Linked DNA regions of Homo sapiens: region 1 is linked to region 2. The links are contacts of gene promoters, found by promoter capture Hi-C in human tissues and cell types (Jung and others, 2019). All regions are on one chromosome and are shown on one strand. Each heading gives the region's core, a stretch centred on a gene start or on the middle of the fragment in contact. The rest is flanking DNA. Distances are from core to core; before and after follow the strand shown. Region 1 holds the start of JUND (JunD proto-oncogene, AP-1 transcription factor subunit). Region 2 holds the start of SNORA68 (small nucleolar RNA, H/ACA box 68).

Evidence for each region. Contacts are between HindIII fragments. The study calls those that stand out against the background at their distance.
Region 1: a contact is called between the fragment with the promoter of JUND here and a fragment that was not itself captured in region 2, in 1 of the 25 tissues and cell types used here (dorsolateral prefrontal cortex).

Annotation. Positions count from the first base shown.
Region 1 is chr19:18,279,545-18,283,909 of GRCh38, reverse strand. It overlaps JUND (JunD proto-oncogene, AP-1 transcription factor subunit), which reads left to right and starts at 2,288. Exons shown (of 1, transcript NM_005354.6): 1 at 2,288-4,216. The coding sequence starts at 2,426. The coding sequence ends at 3,469. It overlaps MIR3188 (microRNA 3188), which reads right to left and starts at 1,833; the gene lies at 1,749-1,833. It overlaps LOC124904652 (a long non-coding RNA gene), which reads right to left and starts at 1,818. Exons shown (of 2, transcript XR_007067154.1): 1 at 780-1,818. RefSeq lists silencers at 1,810-2,809, 3,390-3,699, 4,130-4,329 and an enhancer at 2,303-3,154. The HindIII fragment of the contact is 27,320 bases long and covers 1-4,365 here.
Region 2 is chr19:17,862,560-17,866,389 of GRCh38, reverse strand. It overlaps RPL18A (ribosomal protein L18a), which reads right to left. Exons shown (of 5, transcript NM_000980.4): 4 at 3,363-3,472; 5 at 3,071-3,219. The coding sequence ends at 3,127. It overlaps SNORA68 (small nucleolar RNA, H/ACA box 68), which reads right to left and starts at 3,802; the gene lies at 3,670-3,802. RefSeq lists enhancers at 1,375-1,514, 3,254-3,830. The HindIII fragment of the contact is 9,841 bases long and covers 1-3,830 here.

The DNA.
Region 1 (4,365 bases), core at 1,039-3,538, 420 kb before region 2:
AGGCGCCCGCCACCATGCCCGGCTAATTTTTTTTTTTATTTTTCAGTAGAGACAGGGTTTCACCGTGTTAACCAGGATGGTCTTGATCTCCTGACCTCGTGATCAGCCTGCCTTGGCCTCCTAAAGTGCTGGGATGACAGGCGTGAGCCTCTGCGCCCAGCCTAATTTTTATTTTCAATAGAGATGGGGTTTCACCATGATGGTCAGGCTGGTCTCAAACTCCTGACCTCAAATGCCTGCCTCAGACTTCCAAAGTGCTGGGATTACAGGCAGGAGTCACCGCGTGTGGCCGACAGGCCACCTCTCTTGGTGATGAGGACAGCCTCCCTTATGGCCTTCATGCCCCAGTTGGGGGCAGAGCCAGGTGAGTAAGGAGGATAGAAAAGGAGTAACGCATGCCCACTGGCCAGGCAGACAAACTGAGGCTAGAGACCACCCACACAAGCAACCTTTTGTTGCATTCACCTTTATTTTTTATTTTTTTTTGAGACTGGAGTCTCACTCTGTCTCCCAGGCTGGAGTGCAGTGGCACAATCTCAGCTCACTGCAACCTCTGCCTCCCGGGTTCAAGCGATTCTCATGTCTCAGCCTCCTGAGTAGCTGGGATTACAGGTGCACACCACCACACCCGGTTAATTTTCGTATTTTTTTTTTTTTTTGTATTTTTGTATTTCGGCCAGTCTGGTCTTGAACTGCTGACCTCAAGTGATCTGCCTGCCTCGGCCTCCCAAAGTGCTGGGATTACAGGCATGAGCCACCACACCCAGCCCCGCATTCACCTTTAATACTGAGCATCCATTCTATGCGAGGCCCTGTCAGCAGGCTCAGCATAGGCAATGTCCCTGACCTTCAGGGACTATGGTCCACTCCATCATTCTGGCAGATTCAGAGGCTACAATAAAGGAGTAAAGTCTGAGGGTGGGGCACTTCCTGAAGACACATCTTTGCACTGGGGGAAGGGAGTACCAAGCAGAGAGCATAGCACGTGCAAAGGCCCAGAGGTACGATTAGTCCTGCAACTGGGAGGCCAAGGATCAGAGAGAGTGAGGGGAAGGAGGTCAGGGAAAGGAGGGTGTGGGCTCCATTCAGACAGAGGTGGGGAGCTGGAGGGGTGCATGCAGAGGCTGTAGGTCAGATCCAGATGTCCTAAGGATCCCTTGTGAGTATTGGTGGGGTGGGTCCATCTCTCCTCCCTCACACCCCCTTCCCAGCCAGTCTTAATAGTGGCTCATTAAGCCCTAACAGCCATGATAGTGGTAACAAGCATGTAATAATTATACCCGGCATTCCTGCCTCATCAGCCCAGCCCCTGGAGTTGGGCACCCTCGCCCAGGACATCACAGCCCTGGCAGACCTGGGGTTAAAACGTGGGCGGCGGAAGGAAGGGGCTGCGCAGGGGCCTGGACTCCCAGGTTCTAGGGTTCTAAGGGTGGACAAGAGCTCAGGCCTAGTCACAGCCCGGGCCCTGCTGTGACTCCTAGCTAACTCTCGGGGGATGGTCACTCCACCTCTCTGAGCCCAGTTTCCCATCTGTAAAGGCAGGAAGTAGGACTCCTGGTTCTAGAACGCACTCAGTGAAAATGATCAGGATCCAAGCGCTTTCAGCAACTTCTGGCGACCCTCCTCTCCCCTCCCGTCTCTTCCTGAGCAATCACACGCGGGGTGGAGGGAGGGAGGGAAGGAAGGAGGGAGGGTGAGGAACGCAGACCTCCCCACACCCCCGGCGAGCCCCCGGACACAGCCCCACCAGGCCTCCAGCCCCGTATCCGCACAAAGCCTCTCCAGAAGGCGCGCTAGGGGAGGCCCTGGCGGCACAGCAGAGCAGGAGGCGCCAAGGAGTTATTTAGCCATGCGGGACCCCATCCCCCTCCAGTCCCCGGAGGCCGGCACCGCCCCCGCCCCCGCCCCCGCCCGGCCGGGGCCCCACGCGCGGACACGGGGCGGGGCCTCGGGGCGGGCGGGCGCCTGGTGGCCCGGGCCCATCACGCCACCCGGGACGTGCCTTGGCGGAGGCGGCGCCGGGGAGATCGGTCGTACACAGCGGTCCCGGGGCGGGGTGACCCGGCCCGGGCGCGCGGCCGCCCCCATGACGTCAACCCACAAGGCAGCGCGCTGTTGTGGCGTTTACCGCGCGTCGCCGGGGCAACGGCGGCCGGGCGGGCGTCGGCGGCTTGGCCCCGCCCCTCCATGCAAATGAGCGACGTCACCCGCACCCAATGGCGAACGGGGGCGGTGAGCTCATCGCGCCGAGCCGAGGCTATAAGAGGGCGCACAAGTGGCGCGGCGCAGGAGCCGCCGCCAGTGGAGGGCCGGGCGCTGCGGCCGCGGCCGGGGCGGGCGCAGGGCCGAGCGGACGGGGGGGCGCGGGCCCCCCGGGAGGCCGCGGCCACTCCCCCCCGGGCCGGCGCGGCGGGGGAGGCGGAGGATGGAAACACCCTTCTACGGCGATGAGGCGCTGAGCGGCCTGGGCGGCGGCGCCAGTGGCAGCGGCGGCAGCTTCGCGTCCCCGGGCCGCTTGTTCCCCGGGGCGCCCCCGACGGCCGCGGCCGGCAGCATGATGAAGAAGGACGCGCTGACGCTGAGCCTGAGTGAGCAGGTGGCGGCAGCGCTCAAGCCTGCGGCCGCGCCGCCTCCTACCCCCCTGCGCGCCGACGGCGCCCCCAGCGCGGCACCCCCCGACGGCCTGCTCGCCTCTCCCGACCTGGGGCTGCTGAAGCTGGCCTCCCCCGAGCTCGAGCGCCTCATCATCCAGTCCAACGGGCTGGTCACCACCACGCCGACGAGCTCACAGTTCCTCTACCCCAAGGTGGCGGCCAGCGAGGAGCAGGAGTTCGCCGAGGGCTTCGTCAAGGCCCTGGAGGATTTACACAAGCAGAACCAGCTCGGCGCGGGCGCGGCCGCTGCCGCCGCCGCCGCCGCCGCCGGGGGGCCCTCGGGCACGGCCACGGGCTCCGCGCCCCCCGGCGAGCTGGCCCCGGCGGCGGCCGCGCCCGAAGCGCCTGTCTACGCGAACCTGAGCAGCTACGCGGGCGGCGCCGGGGGCGCGGGGGGCGCCGCGACGGTCGCCTTCGCTGCCGAACCTGTGCCCTTCCCGCCGCCGCCACCCCCAGGCGCGTTGGGGCCGCCGCGCCTGGCTGCGCTCAAGGACGAGCCACAGACGGTGCCCGACGTGCCGAGCTTCGGCGAGAGCCCGCCGTTGTCGCCCATCGACATGGACACGCAGGAGCGCATCAAGGCGGAGCGCAAGCGGCTGCGCAACCGCATCGCCGCCTCCAAGTGCCGCAAGCGCAAGCTGGAGCGCATCTCGCGCCTGGAAGAGAAAGTGAAGACCCTCAAGAGTCAGAACACGGAGCTGGCGTCCACGGCGAGCCTGCTGCGCGAGCAGGTGGCGCAGCTCAAGCAGAAAGTCCTCAGCCACGTCAACAGCGGCTGCCAGCTGCTGCCCCAGCACCAGGTGCCCGCGTACTGAGTCCGCGCGCGGGGCGCATGCGCGGCCACCCTCCCCAAGGGGCGGGCTCGCGGGGGGGTGTCGTGGGCGCCCCGGACTTGGAGAGGGTGCGGCCCTGGGGACCCCCCCTCCCCGAGTGTGCCCAGGAACTCAGAGAGGGCGCGGCCCCCGGGGATTCCCCCCCCCCGAGGGTGCCCAGGACTCGACAAGCTGGACCCCCTGCTCCCGGGGGGGCGAGCGCATGACCCCCCCGCCCTCGCGCTGCCTCTTTCCCCCGCGCGGCCGCCCCGTGTTGCACAAACCCGCGCGTCTCGGCTGCCCCTTTGTACACCGCGCCGCGGAAGGGGGCTCCGAGGGGGCGCAGCCTCAAACCCTGCCTTTCCTTTACTTTTACTTTTTTTTTTTTTTCTTTGGAAGAGAGAAGAACAGAGTGTTCGATTCTGCCCTATTTATGTTTCTACTCGGGAACAAACGTTGGTTGTGTGTGTGTGTGTTTTCTTGTGTTGGTTTTTTAAAGAAATGGGAAGAAGAAAAAAAAATTCTCCGCCCCTTTCCTCGATCTCGCTCCCCCCTTCGGTTCTTTCGACCGGTCCCCCCTCCCTTTTTTGTTCTGTTTTGTTTTGTTTTGCTACGAGTCCACATTCCTGTTTGTAATCCTTGGTTCGCCCGGTTTTCTGTTTTCAGTAAAGTCTCGTTACGCCAGCTCGGCTCTCCGCCTCCTTCTTCCCCCGCCGGGGCCTGGCGGGCTGGGCGGGGCCTGGTTCGCTTCCCCCCTACACCCCCGCCTTTCTCTCCTCCCTCTGTCCCTAGCTCCTCCCCTTGTTGGAGGGAGCAGAGAGCGGGTGTCTGAGAGCGGCCCGCACATCTGGCGCGCAGCGAGCGCCCCCTAGACGCGCCTTGGCGCGGGGCCGGCTGAT
Region 2 (3,830 bases), core at 213-2,712:
AGGTAGCTGGTTGGATGGTGGAGGAATCTGACTGAATGGAAGGATGGGGTTTGGCAGGGGGTGGGGGAATTCGGTGGTAGAGGGGCTTCTGGGCACATTTATGAGAGGCTGAGTGTGCCAAGGTAGGTGAATAGGTGCAGGCTAGTGATCTGGGAGCACATTCATCCTGTCAATGGCCCCTCAATAATGGGATTGGCCTCCATGTCTCAGCTGGTTGGGGCAGAGCTCTCCCAAGTGGTTCCCAGGCTGCTGCCACGTGGTTGAAGCCCTGGAGGGGCTCCAAGGCACAGGGAGGGGACTGAGGTGGAGATGAGGGTATGCAGTGGGCTTTGGTGGGGCCGTGAGCCTTCCACTCTCCTGATCTCTCATCCTCCAACTCACCTAATATCACCTCGCCTGCCCTGCAGCCTGGAGGGATCACCGCCCTCACTTTATACAGGAAGAAATGGCTCAGAGAGGGCAGGGACTTCCAGGCAGTTACGGCCTGAGTCCACAGTGCCACGCCCTGCTTCAGGCCCAGCTCAAGGTAAGGTAAGGTCACATCTAACAGAGCAGCTCCATTACAGCCTAAGCAGGACTCATGTCTCCTCCCCGTGTTCTAATCAAGGGGGTAGAAGGGTCAAGCCTCAGGGACGGGGGCAGCACTGCACAGGGTCAAGTACCGGAGATCCTTCTCCCTCACTGCTCCTGTGTGTTGCTTCTTCATAGTCCAAAATGACTGCTGCAGCACTGGCCATCATGTCCACACCAGCCAGAGGCGTTCTTTCTCAGAAATGGCACATCAGTACTGTATTTTTGTTTTGTTTGGTCTCGTCTTGTTTCCAGGCTGGAGTACAGTGGCATGATCATGGTTCACTGCAGCCTCAACCTCCAGGCTCAAGTGATTCTCACACCTCAGGCCCCCGTGTAGCTGGGACTACAGGTGTGCACCGCAACACCCAGCTAATGTTACTTGGTAAAGACAGGGTCTCACTATGTCTACCAGTCTGGTCTCAAACTCCTGGCCTCAAGTGATCCTCCTACCTCAGCCTCCCAAAGTGCTGAGATGACAGCCATGAGCCACACCTGGCCATAGCTATGGAGGTTAGGAAATGTATTTTCTTTTCTGGGTGGCACTTAAGTATGAAGATTCCCTTATGGAGAAAGGAGAGTTTGTACTAGAAACCACAAGATGAATGAAATTCAGGCAAAATTTTAAGATTTCCAGCTAGCACCCCCCATCCAATATACTCTAAGGAACATCAAAAGATATCCTGGGCTAGGCGGGGTGGCTCACACCTGTAATCCCAGCACTTTGGGAGGCCAAAGCAGGTGGCATGAGGTCGAGTTCCAGACTAGCCCGGCCCACATGGTGAAACCCCGTCTGTACTAAAAATACAAAAAATTTGCCAGGCGTGGTGGCAGGCACCTGTAATTCTAGCTACTCTGGAGGCTGAGGCAGGAGAATCCCTTGAACCTGGGAGGCAGAGGTTGCAGTGAGCTGAGACTGTGCCACTGCACTCCAGCATGGGCAACCAAGCGCGACTCCGTCTCAAAAAAAGAAAGATATCCTGGGAAAATGTATGACTCTTCTCAAGCTTTTGCCCCGCATATGTAAAGAGCTTTCACGAAACAAAAAGGATACCATGGAAAGTTGAGCCCCTCCTGGATACACTGGGTGACACACACAGCCCCTGCCCTCTCAGAACTAGTGGGGGATAGAAATCAAATATAGCCCAGTCCCGGGAACCCACGTGCAGTTTGTAAAACTCGAGTGAGGCCAGCCTGGGGGAATCTGTAGTATTCCAGGCAAGTGCGAAGGCCCTAGGGTGGGAAGGAGCCAGTTGTTGGGGACGGGACCCGTGGGGTTCTGTGGTCTACAGGGCTGTCCTCAGGCCTGGGTCTTACGCAGAATGGGTGCTTGTGTGCTGACCCTGCCCAGGTTCTGGGCGCCTCTCCAAGTTCCTGGGTGTTACAACACCCCACAGGTGAGGCTGGAAAAGGCCTGGTTTCCTGGAAACCACACAGCTCCTCCACAGGTAGAGGAAAGGCTGTGTCCTTGCCCTGAGTGTGGTGGTGCCCCTGTAGTCCCAGCTACTTGGGAGGCTGAGGCAGGAGGACCACTTGAGCCCAGGAGGTCGAGGCTACAGTAAGCCACGATCTCTCCACTGCACTCTAGCCAGGGCGACAGAGCAAGACCCTGTTTCAAAAAGCCGTAACTACTACCTAGTCCTGGCTTCCTCCTGGTCCTGGGCTCTCTGGGACAAAGGAGGGCCCCATAGGCTGACCCCAGCACCTGCACAGCGTCACTTCCCACATCAATGTGGAACCCGATGTTGAGATCAAGACAGCAAGCCCCAGAAGGGCCGCTGGCCCAGAACAGGGCTGCCCAAGGTCACGCAACAAAGGATGGGAGGCTCCCAGAGCCTGAGCTCTTGGCTGTGTCTCAAACTTCTCCAATGCCAGCTTAGCCTCCACCTGACAGAAGGACTCAGCCAGGGTGGGATTAGTGTCATGCCTGGAATTTTCCAGGCCTGAGGCAGTTTCCCAGAGATGAGTACCTGTGGTGAGTCCTTGACCTCCTTGGGCAAGATGAGGGCGTCATCTAAGAGGCCCCCAACCAGTGAAAGGGAAACAGCCCCCAAGCAGCAGAGAGCGCCCCTCGGGTGCCCACTTGTGTCTACTCTGAAAACTTTGGGAACCAGAGACTTAGGAGAATCCCCAGGGAGTGAACGCCAACCCCACTATCTAGGGAGATTCTCCCTGGTCCAGACTCAGCAGGGGAGCCTGGGAGGCCTGTGTCTCACAAGGCAGTTGGGACAGATTTAGGGCCCAGGACAGACAGTACCCCTGCAGCTCATAGCCCAGGGCTGCCAGCAGGGCTGAGAACTGACCAAGCAAGAGGGAGCTCAGGGGTGGGGGCGCCTGGAGGGCCCACTCCAGGACAGGAGGATGTGAGGGTTTGTTTGTTTGCACTGAAGACCCCTCCCAGGACAAAGAAATGGCAGCTCAGCTGCACCCCAGGAGCTGACTGGGCCGGCCTCTCATAGCACCCCTTTGAGCTCTGCAGTGTGCAAAGAAAACATGCGGCGAGCACCGGGGCGTTCCTGAGTTTATTTGGGGCACACCCGGACGAGGGCCCTGCACCTAGAAGAAGGTGTTGGGCCTCTTGGTGGTGAAGCGTGGCTTGTGCTGACGGCGCAGGACCCGGTGGGGCAGCGGGAACTTGATCTTGGAGTCCTGTGAGGAAGGGAGGCATGTTGAGGGGGTTGGAAGCCTCTTAACACCCCATCCTGTGGGGCCACCAAGGTGTAGCCGCCCCCCACTGGGCTCCTGCGTCAGAGCAGGCACTTCCCTCCAGGGGAGTCCCCCAGGGCACTCACGTGGAACTGCTTGACAGCCGGCCGGCGGCACTTGCTGGCCGCGATCTCCTCCACCTTCATGATCTGAATGGAGTGGGCTCGGGCGCGGTGCCGGGCACCCATGTCTCGGTCTGTGGAAAGGAGCGGGGCCAGGGTGACGGTGTTGCCTGGGCTCTGGGCATTCAGCAAACCTCCTGAGTGCCTGCCCAATGACCTGACACATCCTGTTGGTCACAGCAACTGCCTGAGGGCTCGGGGCTCACGGGAAGGTGGTGGTGGGGAAGCGAGATAGCCCAAGGCCTGGGTCCCTGCAGTCACTGGCCACTAGAGTTGTGGAACCTCCAAATTCACTTTGAGGGGCACGGCCACAGCCCCCCAAAGGCGACAAGATCCGCTTGCTGTTTGCACCTCTGTTTAAACCACCGCTATAAGAAACAGTGATTCTTGGGTTTAGGTGCAATCAGGGAGGTGTGGGGGTCTCACAGACCC